2 separate regions of the Homo sapiens genome follow, and region 2 is linked to region 1. The links are contacts of gene promoters, found by promoter capture Hi-C in human tissues and cell types (Jung and others, 2019). All regions are on one chromosome and are shown on one strand. Each heading gives the region's core, a stretch centred on a gene start or on the middle of the fragment in contact. The rest is flanking DNA. Distances are from core to core; before and after follow the strand shown. Region 1 holds the start of DNAJC9 (DnaJ heat shock protein family (Hsp40) member C9). Region 2 overlaps MICU1 (mitochondrial calcium uptake 1).

Region 1 (5,804 bases), core at 1,902-4,401:
CAGTAGATCCTCTGATTCCAATTACCATTTGTTTTTTACCCAATTCTATTTGCTAGAGGTAGTAAGTACTCTGGCACTCATAAATCACATGATGATAAAAAGGAACATGAGGCCGGGTATGGTGGCTCACAACTGTAATCCCCATACCTTGGGAGGCCAAGGTGGGAGGATCACTTGAACTCAGGAGTTCAAGACCTGCCTGGGTAACATAGTGAGACCTCAGTTCTATAAAAAAGAAAAGAAATGAGCCTGGTGTGGTGGCATGTGCTTGTAGTCCCAGCTACTAGGGAGGCTGAGGTGGGAAGATGGCTTCAGTCTGAGAGTTCAGGCTGCAATAAGCTGTGATCATGCCTCTGCACTCCAGCCTGGGTGATGGAGATGCCATCTCTTAGAAAAAAGAGAAAAAAAAAAAAAAAAGGCAAATGATGCAATTGCCAGGATACAGGTATTTCCAATTTCTCTCCTGGAAACCCAATTTACTCCATGGGACTGGTGGTGCCTTGTGAACAACCCCAGTTTAAAATGACTTCTCCCCAGTAGTCAGAAGAACCAACATCAATAAACTCAGTTTTAACATCTATTTACCTAATTTCAAAGCAGCCTTCCTTTGCCAAGTGTTCCTAGAGCATTGTTTACAAAATATCACAAGAACACCTTAGGGCAACAACTATAAGAGGCCCCAACACCCCTTGTGAATTTTCTAAGTAGCAATTAATGCTATTAATACTGAGGATGATGATACATTAGGACCCCCTATCCCAATAAGACACCGTTTCCTTGTATTCAAATTCTCTCTTTAAATTCAGCATCCCCCTAAGGTTTGTTGAACAGTCTATCAAAACTATGCCATTTTCTCCTCAAATTCTAGGGAAGTTTCTCAAGCTAACAGTCTACTGTGAATGCAGCTGTGCTCAGTTTCATCTCAGGAAATGATGAACGACTTAAGATAATTGTCAGCTTGAGTCTTAGCAGATGTAGCCTATGAACCAAAATGGTCTTGATATACACTCCACCGTTCCCCTCAAGCTCACCAGAAAGGGTGCAGCCTCTTATCTAGGCAAAACAGGCCCTTCAAATTTTCACCGGAAACAAAAAGGTCAGCTTTCTCTCTGCCAGCGTCTCTTATGTAAAAGCTGCAGAAAAGTTCCTGAGGGCACTCAGGAAGGCAGCAGTGGTCCTAAAAGTTGTGTGCTCCTTAAGAGAATCTAACGCCCGATGATCTAAGGTTTCATCCTGAACCACCCCCCCAACTCTCCTCACCCCCACTGTCACTGGAAAAACTGTCTTCCACAAAACAGGTACCTGGTATCAAAAAGGCTGGGGACCGCTAAGCTAAAGTTTTTCTTTAAAAAAAAAAAAAAGAAAAGAAAAATTCTGTATCCAACTCAAGAATCAAATTCGGGGCAAAGGCCCAAACATCTGCACTTTTAACAAGACGGTGTCTGCCATTCTCTTCTTACCCCCTCAACCGAGTAAGGATCACTGCCCATCCTGTGTACCCGGGTTCCACTAACTTTATCTCCTGAGGAATGCCTCAGGAATGCTACAAGAATTGGCCTACATGAAAAAATATTTCAGTGCTACTTTACTATGGTAATATTTAAACAATCTATGCAATAAAAATCATCTTGAGCACAACATGCTAGAAAAAGTTTCTCTTGATGAACTGGTATGCCCATTTTATTAGATCGAAACTATAGACCAAGTTAACCCTAGTCCTTATTTCTGGAGTTTTATGTTTACTTCTACTGCTGTAAATACTCTCAAATCCTTTTTGGAAGCAGTCAAAATATAAATCCACAGTATTCAAAATCTTACCCTCCTTTTCCTTGCATTCATCTTTTGTTTCGATTCTTTGACAAAGGCATTATAGGATGGGACCTCTCCGGCGTCAATAGCTTGCTGAATGATATTCCTTATCCTGGGTTCCTCTGTGTACTGCACGCAAAGCACAGACTCCATGATCTGATCCATGTCACCCTTGAAGTCCAGATAGGCCTGCTTAATATCAGCCAGCTCTTCTTCCGAACCTTTGTATGTCTTTTCAAAAGCTTGAATGTCCTCTAAAGATATCTGATGATAAAGGAGATTTGCTTTAACTTTGGGAATTTTACTTTAAATAAAACGTACGTTAGTAAAACTAGAGTTGGGTGTTGAATTGCTGCAATACAACAGTTGCTTGAGTTGAAATTATTGAACCAGATTTTCTATGCCTAAGCTTCTCCGGAGTCCTCCTTTTTAAATCCAATCTTCATTAACTGCTAACTAGGGACCAGGGAAGGGAAATTTAAGTGAAATTTCCAAGAGTGAGAGGTGATCCGGAATCAGGACTTACATTTGGATATGTAAAATAAAGCGCATCCGGCAAAAAAAATAAATCGGCCCTTTTCAGTGCAACAATCACATTAACAGGAAATTTAAAGCCCGTTTCAGTAAGCGTGCGTGTATCTGTATTTCAAGGCCAAACTCAAAATTCCTAATTCCTACAAAATTAACACAAAATACAAGATCTTAGAGGCAGTCAATAAAGGTTTGTTGATTGAATGATGGTAACAGTCACAAAGAAACCTCCAGAGTCCTTTACCTTTTTAAAGAGTAGCCGCCAATACGCCTCCCAGTCTCGGTCTTGGGTGAGCACAGGAGAGTCCTCGTCCACTGTTCCCTGCTCATCGTACACTGCTCTCTGTTCTCTGTCACTGAGAACGGAATAGACTTTTCCCAGGATCTGAGGGCAAAGAGTATCCGTAAATCACCCCTGCTCCTCCCACCGAAACGGCGGCGCGAGAAATAAAGATCAGAAGGCGCCAAGCGGAGCTCAGCGCGCTCCCCCGGGGCGGGGCCCGGTAGCCAAAAGGCTAGGGGGAGGCCCGCGCAGCCGGTCGGCTTCGGGGCGGGACCCTGCATACCTGGAAGCGGCGGGTGGCGTCCTCCTTGTCGCCCTCACCCACCCGGTCCGGGTGTACCTGCAGGGACACCTTGTGGTAGCCTCGTCGGACCTCGCCGTCGGAGGCCTCGCGTCGCACGCCCAGCACCCGGTAAAGGTCGGCGGTGCCGAACACTTCCTCGCAAAGGTCCAGCAGCCCCATGCCGGGCGGAGATACGACCCCGGAGGAAGCAGCCGCTCCCAGCTGCGCCGGGTACAACCCAGGACTGCTTCTTTTTCGCGCCCAAAAAGCCCAGGGCGCCTGCGTCACAAGCACTGAAGGGGCGTGGCCACGCCGCGCATCCGCGCTTTACGGCGGCCGCAAAATGAGGTGTGGCGAGTCAGGCGCGGGCCCGGGTAAGTAACGCCGGCATGTGGAGTCACAGTCCCCGGCCGCGCGCAGGAGCTAGGTCTTCAGGGAAGTGATGTTGCTCGGGTCTCTCCTCCCCTTGCTCTGGAAATCTGGCGTCCGTCTTACCTTTTAGTGTCCAAGAACAACTTTTTCAAAAAGTTCATATATTAGCTTGAATTTACAAACTGCTGGCCTATTTTTTTAAGTAGAAAACGGCCAAACATCAGCATTCAGCAGTTACACATGGTTCAACTTAACAGATGTGTTTTTTCAAAAATGTTCTTGAAAGGAATAGGTAAAGCTGTAGACCCAAATAATTTTGCACCCCACTGGTTGGAAATGCTGGGGTACTTTCCCTCTAGCCCTGTAGGAAAAAACCCTATACTGAAACCCAAAAAGCACAAAACACGGGTCTTCCAAAAACTCTTACCTAATAGGACTTTCACCTTACACATTGGTGGAGAGAGATAACATGACCCAAGCCTCCGTCTTAATAACATAAACTGCTGAAGCAAAGGCTCTTTCTTTTAATACTCTGTGAAGTTCACAGCTGGGTTTGAACATGTTGGATCCCAGGTGGCAGCAGAGTGGGCTGGAGCAATCATCCAAGAGATGGTGAGAAACTTGGGCCTGGAGACCCAAAGCAAGGTTGAGGCTGGGGATAAAACTTTGTTAGTAGGGTAAACTCACAGAGGAAGTATGTGTATACATATCTTAAAGGATAAACAATGCTAAGTGAATACCCGAGTTGGCAGAAAATACCTTATCAAATATCCCCTCACTGATGTAGCATTTTTCAGAATCATTCTGCTCTGCCAATAAGTTTCTGCAAAGCCTCAAACTCTCCAGGATACATTAATATCTTTTAAACTTCCCAGAGTTGCCGTGATTTTCAAAGCATTTCTCTTTCCCAGATCCAAGATCAAACTCAGCTGAAGTCAGTTCCTCTCAACCTGCCCTGGCATCAAAGTCTCAAAGCAAGTGGGGGCCAACCAGCAACAACCCCAGGGGAGCTTTGACAACCACAGAATTTGAGATGGCTGGTAATCGTTCTCAGAACATAAAACACAAAGTAAGTCGGCACATTGATAGAACCTCCTCTATAAATTTCCTATATCTTAGTCACACACCAGAGTTAAGCCATCTGTCTTTGCTCATTTTTCCCTCTATGGACAACATAATATGTTGGGAAGGGCTTTCCAGGAGGGCATAACCGGGAGATGAATCTTACATCACTGGGCAAGTTTCCACCTCTAGGCCTCAGCTTCCCTATCTGTAAAACGGAGATAATCCTACCTGCCTTCATAATACCTTACAATTGTCACAAATAACCTTGTACACAAAAGGCCTAGGATATATGTAGATGCTTTGCAATATTATCTTTCTTCCAGTTTCTTGTATTTTTTAAGGTATTCAAATACATCTATTTTAACATTTTTCTATATATACATTTGCTACGGAAAATTGAAATCGCACACTGAAATATCCTTTTATTGCAACTCAAATTTTCAAAAACCAGAAAATCAAATTATTATGCTCTAGCCAAATTATGTAATGTTTTCTTTTTCTTTTCTCTGTCACCCAGGCTGGACTGTAGTGGAACAATCACAGTTCACTGCAGCATCGGCCTCCTGGGCTCAAGTGATCTTACTGCCTCAGCTTCCCGAGTAGCTGGAACTATGGGTGAGCAACACCACAGCCAGCTAATTTTTTAAGTTTTTGTAGAGACGGGGTCTTGCTGTGTTGCACAGGCTGGTCTCAAACTCTGGCTTCAAGTGATCCTTCCACCTCAGCCTCCCAAAGTGCTGAGATTACAGGTGTGAGCCACTGCCCCAATGGTATCTTTATATTATTTTTCCTTACAAGTTACTTCAAATTCTTGATGTTGAATTTCATCTCACTGACTTCAGGCTTTTAAAACACATGGGAATACTTGAGACCTAAGAATGGTTGTGAGTCAAATAAAAAAGTAGAACTAAAGTATACTGAAGTTATTCAAATACATTCAAACTATAAAGATCCCTTATAGATTACTGGCATCAAGGTAGGAAGGAAAAGATACAAGAAGTAAAATGCAACACTCATTACAGGTTGTCAACATTATTGGTATACAGTTTATCCTAACACAGAGCAGCCTTCTTAACCTGCTCCATAAAATTACCAGCAAGAAAGAAAAGTACAAGAATAAGGTTCACAGCTGAATTGGCTTGGTGTCCTAATTCCCTATTCCAGTATTCTCAGAAGGATCCCATCTATGATATATGCAGAAATCACAGCCACATTTGAATGGTTCAATCTTGATTCATACTGAACTCCCTTAAGCCCAGCAGTTTCTCATTCTTAAAAGGTAGGTTATTAGAGCCCCAAAGCAATTTTCATAACAAATCTACCTTTGTATATTTAAGAATATGCATTAAGGCTAGGAGTGGTGGCTCACGCCAGTAATCCTAGCACTTTGGGAGGCCGAGGTGGGCAGATCACAAGGTCAGATTGAGACCATCCTGGCCAACACGGTGAAACCCCATCTCT
Region 2 (5,804 bases), core at 939-3,438, 870 kb before region 1:
TGAGGGAAAGAAAAGGATTAATTTCCATTTATGCTGGTAATGAAGAGCTCTCTATAATCATCACATTAGATTCATCCAGAAGCCAAGTGAACTTAAACTAGAACCACTGTGCCTTGTTTATCGCATTCCTATAATTTCAGTTCCTATTATCAGCCCATCTTGTCATTTTTTGCATTTGATCTTTCACTTTGCCTCTATCACCTCCATATATTTACCCGATACGGTTTAGATTTGTGCCCCCACCCAAATCTCATGTCAAATTGTAATTCCCAGGCCAGGCGTGGTGGCTTACACCTGTAATCCCAGCACTTTGGGAGGCCAAGGCTGATGGATCACCTGAGGTCAGGAGTTCGAGACCAGCCTGGCCAACATGGTGAAACCCTGTCTCTACTAAAATAAATACAAAAATTAGCTGGGCGTGGTGGTGCGCACCTATAGTCCAAGCTACTCAGGAGGCTGAGACATGAGAATCACTTGAACCTGGGAGGCGGAGGTTGCAGTGAGCCAAGACTGTGCCACTGCACTCCAGCCTCGGTTACAGAGCGGGACTCTGTCTCACAAAAGCAAAACAAAAACAAAAAAACCCTGAAAATCCAAAAACAAATGGTAATCCCCAGTGTTGGAGGAGGGGCCTGGTAGGAGGTTACTGGATCATGGGGGCAGATTTCCCCCTTGCTGTTCTCATGATAGTAAGCGAGTTCTCATGAGATCTGGTTAAGTGTGTGGCACCTCCCACCTCTCTCTCTTCCTCCTGCTCTGGCCATGTGAGACGTGCCTCCTTCCTCTTCGCCTTTCACCAGGATTGTAAGTTTCCTGAGGCCTCCTCAGCCATGCTTCCTTTACAGCCTGTGGAACTGTGAGCCAATTAAGCCTCTTTTCTTTATAAATTACCCAGTCTCAGGTAGTTCTTTATAGCAATGCAAGAATTAATTAATACATCACCACAGTGCCCCCAACATCAGCAGATGCAAACACTGGAGCAATGCAGAGGAGCAAGGTAATGCGGTAGAAAACAAGGCTTGGAGTAACGGGACCTGGGCTCCAGTTCTGGCCCCACCACCAACGTGCTGTGTGACCCGGATGGAGTCACTTGATCTCTTTAGATTTAATTTTCTCATGTTCAAGTGGAGGGATGCCACCAGACAACTGCTGAGGCGGCTTACTAGCACAAAGAAGGGTTTATTGGTGTCATCTAGAATCTGAGGGTGAGGTTGGGGTGGAAATATCCCATCTTTTCTCCCAGGATCTGAGTTAGGGTGAAGAGGAAATTAACATTCTTTGGTACTAAAAGACTGAAGTATAAGATATTGTGGTGGATATTCATGAGATGTGTGTTGGGAAATCTACAAGACTATAGCGCTCTAGAGTTTAGAAATTTAGCCTCACAAATCTAGATACTTGATTTGGCTCAGGAAAAACTTATTCCTGCTAACTAAACTGTCCACAGAAGGAACAGAAATCAGGCCAATTTGCAATAAGAATAGTAACTGTTAAGAGAACTACAATGATGACAGCTGGTCATTATACTTCTCAGTAGGAAAGCTACTAAGGAAACCCCATTCACCTCAGAAGATTAACCTCAAAAGATTACTCAGTGAAAACAGAATGAGATCAGAAGGAACTGGAAGCGCTTAAACTGTGATTGCCTACAGCTTTACTCTTTGCTGCCACAGAAATGTGTCCTGAGAAGGGGATCGGAACCTGTTCTGTATTAGATAAACATGAACACTTTCTGTTAACCATTCCTTTTTCTGCATTTCACATCAACCTTAAGCTTCTGACTTCCTTTTCTCTTTCCCAGTTCTTCCATTCTCTCAGGGCACAGCCTTCTGCAATTGTCTTGATATTTCAAGTACTCATCTTCTCCCCATGAAGATGGTGCCCTTTCCTGTAAATAAACCATTAATTAAATAATACTCAAGGATGTCAGTGAGAGCTCTTGACAATTTCTAATGAGAGGCTCATTAAATTGGTATTAAGTGGTTGTAGAATAGGGACTTCTGGAGGCCTCCAGCAAGAATGCCTCATTACAGATGCCATCTCTTCACAGAAAGTTATAGATTATGTTCCATCTCACATGGAGAGGGCTCTGGTGTCCTTCCTACCATAGGAGGAAGAACTAGGGCTGCTAAGTTATTGTAGCCCAAACCACTGGGATGTTAGCCAGCAAACAGCCTAGCTGGGGTCCCCTTTCCTGGTACAAGATCCTCATTATAGGCCCCTGGGGTATGAATCAGAGTCGTGCAGGAAGCCAACATTTAATAGCTGGTGAGCTGTCAAACTAGGAGCACCTGGGATGAGTGGGATGACGGCAGATTACAAGCCAAGTGCTTGACAGCTGGTCCTGAGAGTTGGTTCATTCATATTTGCTTCCAATATCTCTGAATCCAGTCATAATCACAGCAAGCAGAACAAGTTTTCCTCCCAGATCTCAACTTTTTTATGCAGACCAGTTGTTGGTACTGGAATTCTGGCCTCCCTATTTGATGATGCTGACTGATGGTTGGGATTCCAGCTCCCAATCTGAAAGATGTCTACAGGGAGCATGAAGGCACCCCAGCGAAGGCCTAGCTTTCTAAATACTACGTATTTTTGTACAAATCTGGCCCAGCTGCCTGAACAAAGGGTTTAAGTGCGATTGGGTGATTCCTATTAGATTGGGATGGGAGAGAATTTGTAGAAGTGGGCTCAACTAGTACTCAAAAATCTGGCACCATCTGGCTTTTTGCAAAGTCCAGGCAGAATCCGAGTTGTGTCAGGTCCCCAATTTACTCTCCAGCATGATTCATGACTGGCTGTTTCAACAGTAAAAAGAAACCCTGAGTTTGTGTGATATAATATCAGAAACTACATACATAAATCTATTCACCACAATAGTTAAACAGAAGAGCTCTGAAGTGATGAGAGCCCAAATGTCCACTTGGAATCAGAGAATCTTAGAACTGGAAGATACCTCAGAGGAAATGTGACGTTAAATAATTTGCCCAGGGTCACAATGCTAGATGGTAACAGAGCTGGGTCTCGAATTTTGGCTGGTGCCCTTTCCCTATACACACTGGGTCCACATGATCCCTTCCATATATGGACAATATCAATTCCTCCATGACATGAATCTGTCACCCTGAGGAGAAAGGGTTTAGATTAAAGAAAAGTCACATGGGAAATACTCAAGTCCTTTTGGTGAGGGATGAATGAATAATTGAATAACTGGGAGTTGTGAGGCACCAGCATTAATTATAGGTTGGCCGTGGATCTGACTACCCCCTACAGTGGAAGACACTGAGTATTCCCTAGGAACTCATACCGACAATTTTAGGGACAACTTAAAAAGTGTATTCAACAGCAATCCAACGAAAAGCACATGTAACGAATGTGGCCCTGGGAGTTTTTCTCCACAGCTGCCTCTGATGCACAGATACAGCTTTAGGCAGCATGACCCAGTTAGGAGCTACCTGCCTCTTCCTAATGCAAAAGTGTTTGGAAAGGTGGTATGACAAGTTGGGCTGACAGTCTCTAAGCTGTGTGGCCATGTACTATTCCTGCCTTACCGGACTGCAGTGGAGAAAATCAAAAGCTGACTGGTGATGGCCAAGGTTAAGTGAGGGGAGATGGTTCTGCTTCAGCCCTGGAAAGGCTGATGCAGATGTCTTGTTTTCTTAAGTCCATCCCTAGATGGCTTTGGGTGGAACAAGGGGGAGGATATTTCCTTAAAGAGCATGTGTCCTGTCTTTTGTATCTCCTTCCATGAGCTTTTGTTAATACAAATGCACATTTTAACCTAGTTCTGGGGTGAGGGGAGGGGAAACGACAACATTTAGGAGAACTAGCAATTTAAGGAGCCAAGAGCAATGCAGCCTACAAGTAATGGAAATGATAACAATTCCTTGTTCTGTACGGTGCTCTTAGGCCCTATGCCCGCTGACCCCCTGTGTACTCAGGCTGCCTGACTGTCAGAGGTGATGCTGCTAATCCTAGCTCCTAACTTCCAGGACACACCACGGAGAAGATCTGTTTTCTGAGCCTGAGCGCATCATCCCAGATGATGGCTTCAATGGGCTTACACGCTTAATTTGGTACAAACTAACTTGGCAGTAAGATTTATTGCCATTGTCTAGTATTGTATCTGGGTTTATTAAAAATCCCCATCACATCTTTTCCACAAAGGGCTAGCATTTCTGCAAGCATCATTAGGTAGTCAATGATTTCAGCTGACACACCCATGGGACAATCACAGTTTGGTGGAGGAGACTGTGTATATATATATCTATACACACACACACACACACACACACACACACACACACACACACATTAAGATGGAGAAACACGTAGAAGAGACAGATATCAGATATATTAATACACACATATGGGAAATAATGGAATAGTGTGTATTTGGTACGAGTTACATTTTGGATCTGAATTCTTTTTTTTTTTTGAGACAGTCTTGCTCTGTCGCCCAGGCTGGAGTGCAGTGGTGCGATCTCGGCTCATTGCAACCTCGCCTCCCGGGTTTAAGTGATTCTCCTGCCTCAGCCTCCCTAGTAGCTGGGATTACAGGTGCCTGCCACCACGTCCGGCTAATTTTTTTTTTTTTTTAGTAGAGACAGGGTTTCGCCATGTTGGCTAGGCTGGTCTCGAACTCCTGACCTCAGGTGATCCACCCGCCTTGACCTCCCAAAGTGCTGGGATTACAGGCATGAGCCACCGCGCCTGGCCTGTATCTGAATTCTAAGGGAGAAAAGAGACCAACTGCGCATGTATGGTAGTGAGTGATGTGGGTTGGGGGTTTCTGTTTGAATACAGTATTAAAAGCAGGAAGGAGTGCTAAGGCCTGATTAGAGAGTTAGAACAGAAGGTGCAGGGGGTGAGTACATTAGGAGAAATCTTACAGAGGACTAGTCAAGTCTCCTTGCAAGAAAGTCTTTAAAACAGGCCAAGTGTGGTGGCTCACGCCTGTAATCCCAGCACTTTATGAGGCCAAGGCAGGCAGATCACCCGAGCTTAGGAATTCAAGACCAGACTGGCCAACATGGCGAAACCCCGTCTCTACTAAAAATACAAAAATTAGCCAGGCGTGGTGGCACATGCCTGTAATCCCAGCTACTCAGGAGGCTGAGGCAAGGGAATCACTTGAACCCGGGAGGCGGAGGCTGCAGTGAGCCAAGATCACGCCACTGCACTCCAGCCTGGGCGACAGAGCAAGCCTCCGTCCAATAGTAACTTGCTTTTCCCTCTCACATTGTTTAAATATTCATTCTGTTAGCTTTATTTTAAAAGTTGTTTTTAATTAGGACAGGTGCAGTGGCTCATGCTTATAATCCTAGTGGTTTGGGAGGCCAAGAATGAGACCAGCCTGGGCAATAGAGGAAGACCTCATCTCTACGAAAAATTTTAAAAAACATTAGTTGGGCACGATGGTGCGCTCCTGCAGTCCTAGCTACTTGGGAAACTGAGGTGGGAGGATTACCTGAGCCCAGGAGTTCAAGTCTGCAGTGAGCTATGACTGCACAACTGTACTCCAACCTAGGCAACAGAGCAAGACCCTGTCTCAAAAAAAAAAAAAAAAAGATGTTTTTGATTCGCTAATATAGTCATCTGCTTCAAAATTTGAATGGTACAAAAGGGGTGAAGTCTCTCTCCCAACCTTATACCCCAGTCACCCAGTCATTCAGAGACAATCAATGTCACTAGTTTCCCCAGAAATATTTTGTAGATATAAAATCAAATATGTACTCTTCGCTTCTTCCCTTTTCCCACAAAATGGTGGTGTACTAAATATTGTTTTGCTTTACTCACTTAACAAC

Evidence for each region. Contacts are between HindIII fragments. The study calls those that stand out against the background at their distance.
Region 2: a contact is called between a fragment that was not itself captured here and the fragment with the promoter of DNAJC9 in region 1, in 1 of the 25 tissues and cell types used here (lymphoblastoid cells).

The regions. Positions count from the first base shown.
Region 1 is chr10:73,244,104-73,249,907 of GRCh38, forward strand. DNAJC9 (DnaJ heat shock protein family (Hsp40) member C9) reads right to left here and starts at 3,152. Exons shown (of 5, transcript NM_015190.5): 1 at 2,907-3,152; 2 at 2,585-2,725; 3 at 1,819-2,073. The coding sequence starts at 3,086. DNAJC9-AS1 (DNAJC9 and MRPS16 antisense RNA 1) reads left to right here and starts at 3,264. Exons shown (of 4, transcript NR_038373.1): 1 at 3,264-3,280; 2 at 4,190-4,347. FAM149B1 (family with sequence similarity 149 member B1) reads left to right here. Exons shown (of 14, transcript NM_173348.2): 14 at 1-401. MRPS16 (mitochondrial ribosomal protein S16) reads right to left here. Exons shown (of 3, transcript NM_016065.4): 3 at 4,746-5,804. RefSeq lists enhancers at 2,594-3,793, 3,059-3,398 and a silencer at 2,709-2,858. The HindIII fragment of the contact is 4,197 bases long and covers 746-4,942 here.
Region 2 is chr10:72,377,696-72,383,499 of GRCh38, forward strand. The region is part of intron 10 of MICU1 (mitochondrial calcium uptake 1); the gene reads right to left. Among named protein-coding and RNA genes, the nearest start is that of DNAJB12, 26 kb to the left of the region's middle. The HindIII fragment of the contact is 7,352 bases long and covers 1-5,804 here.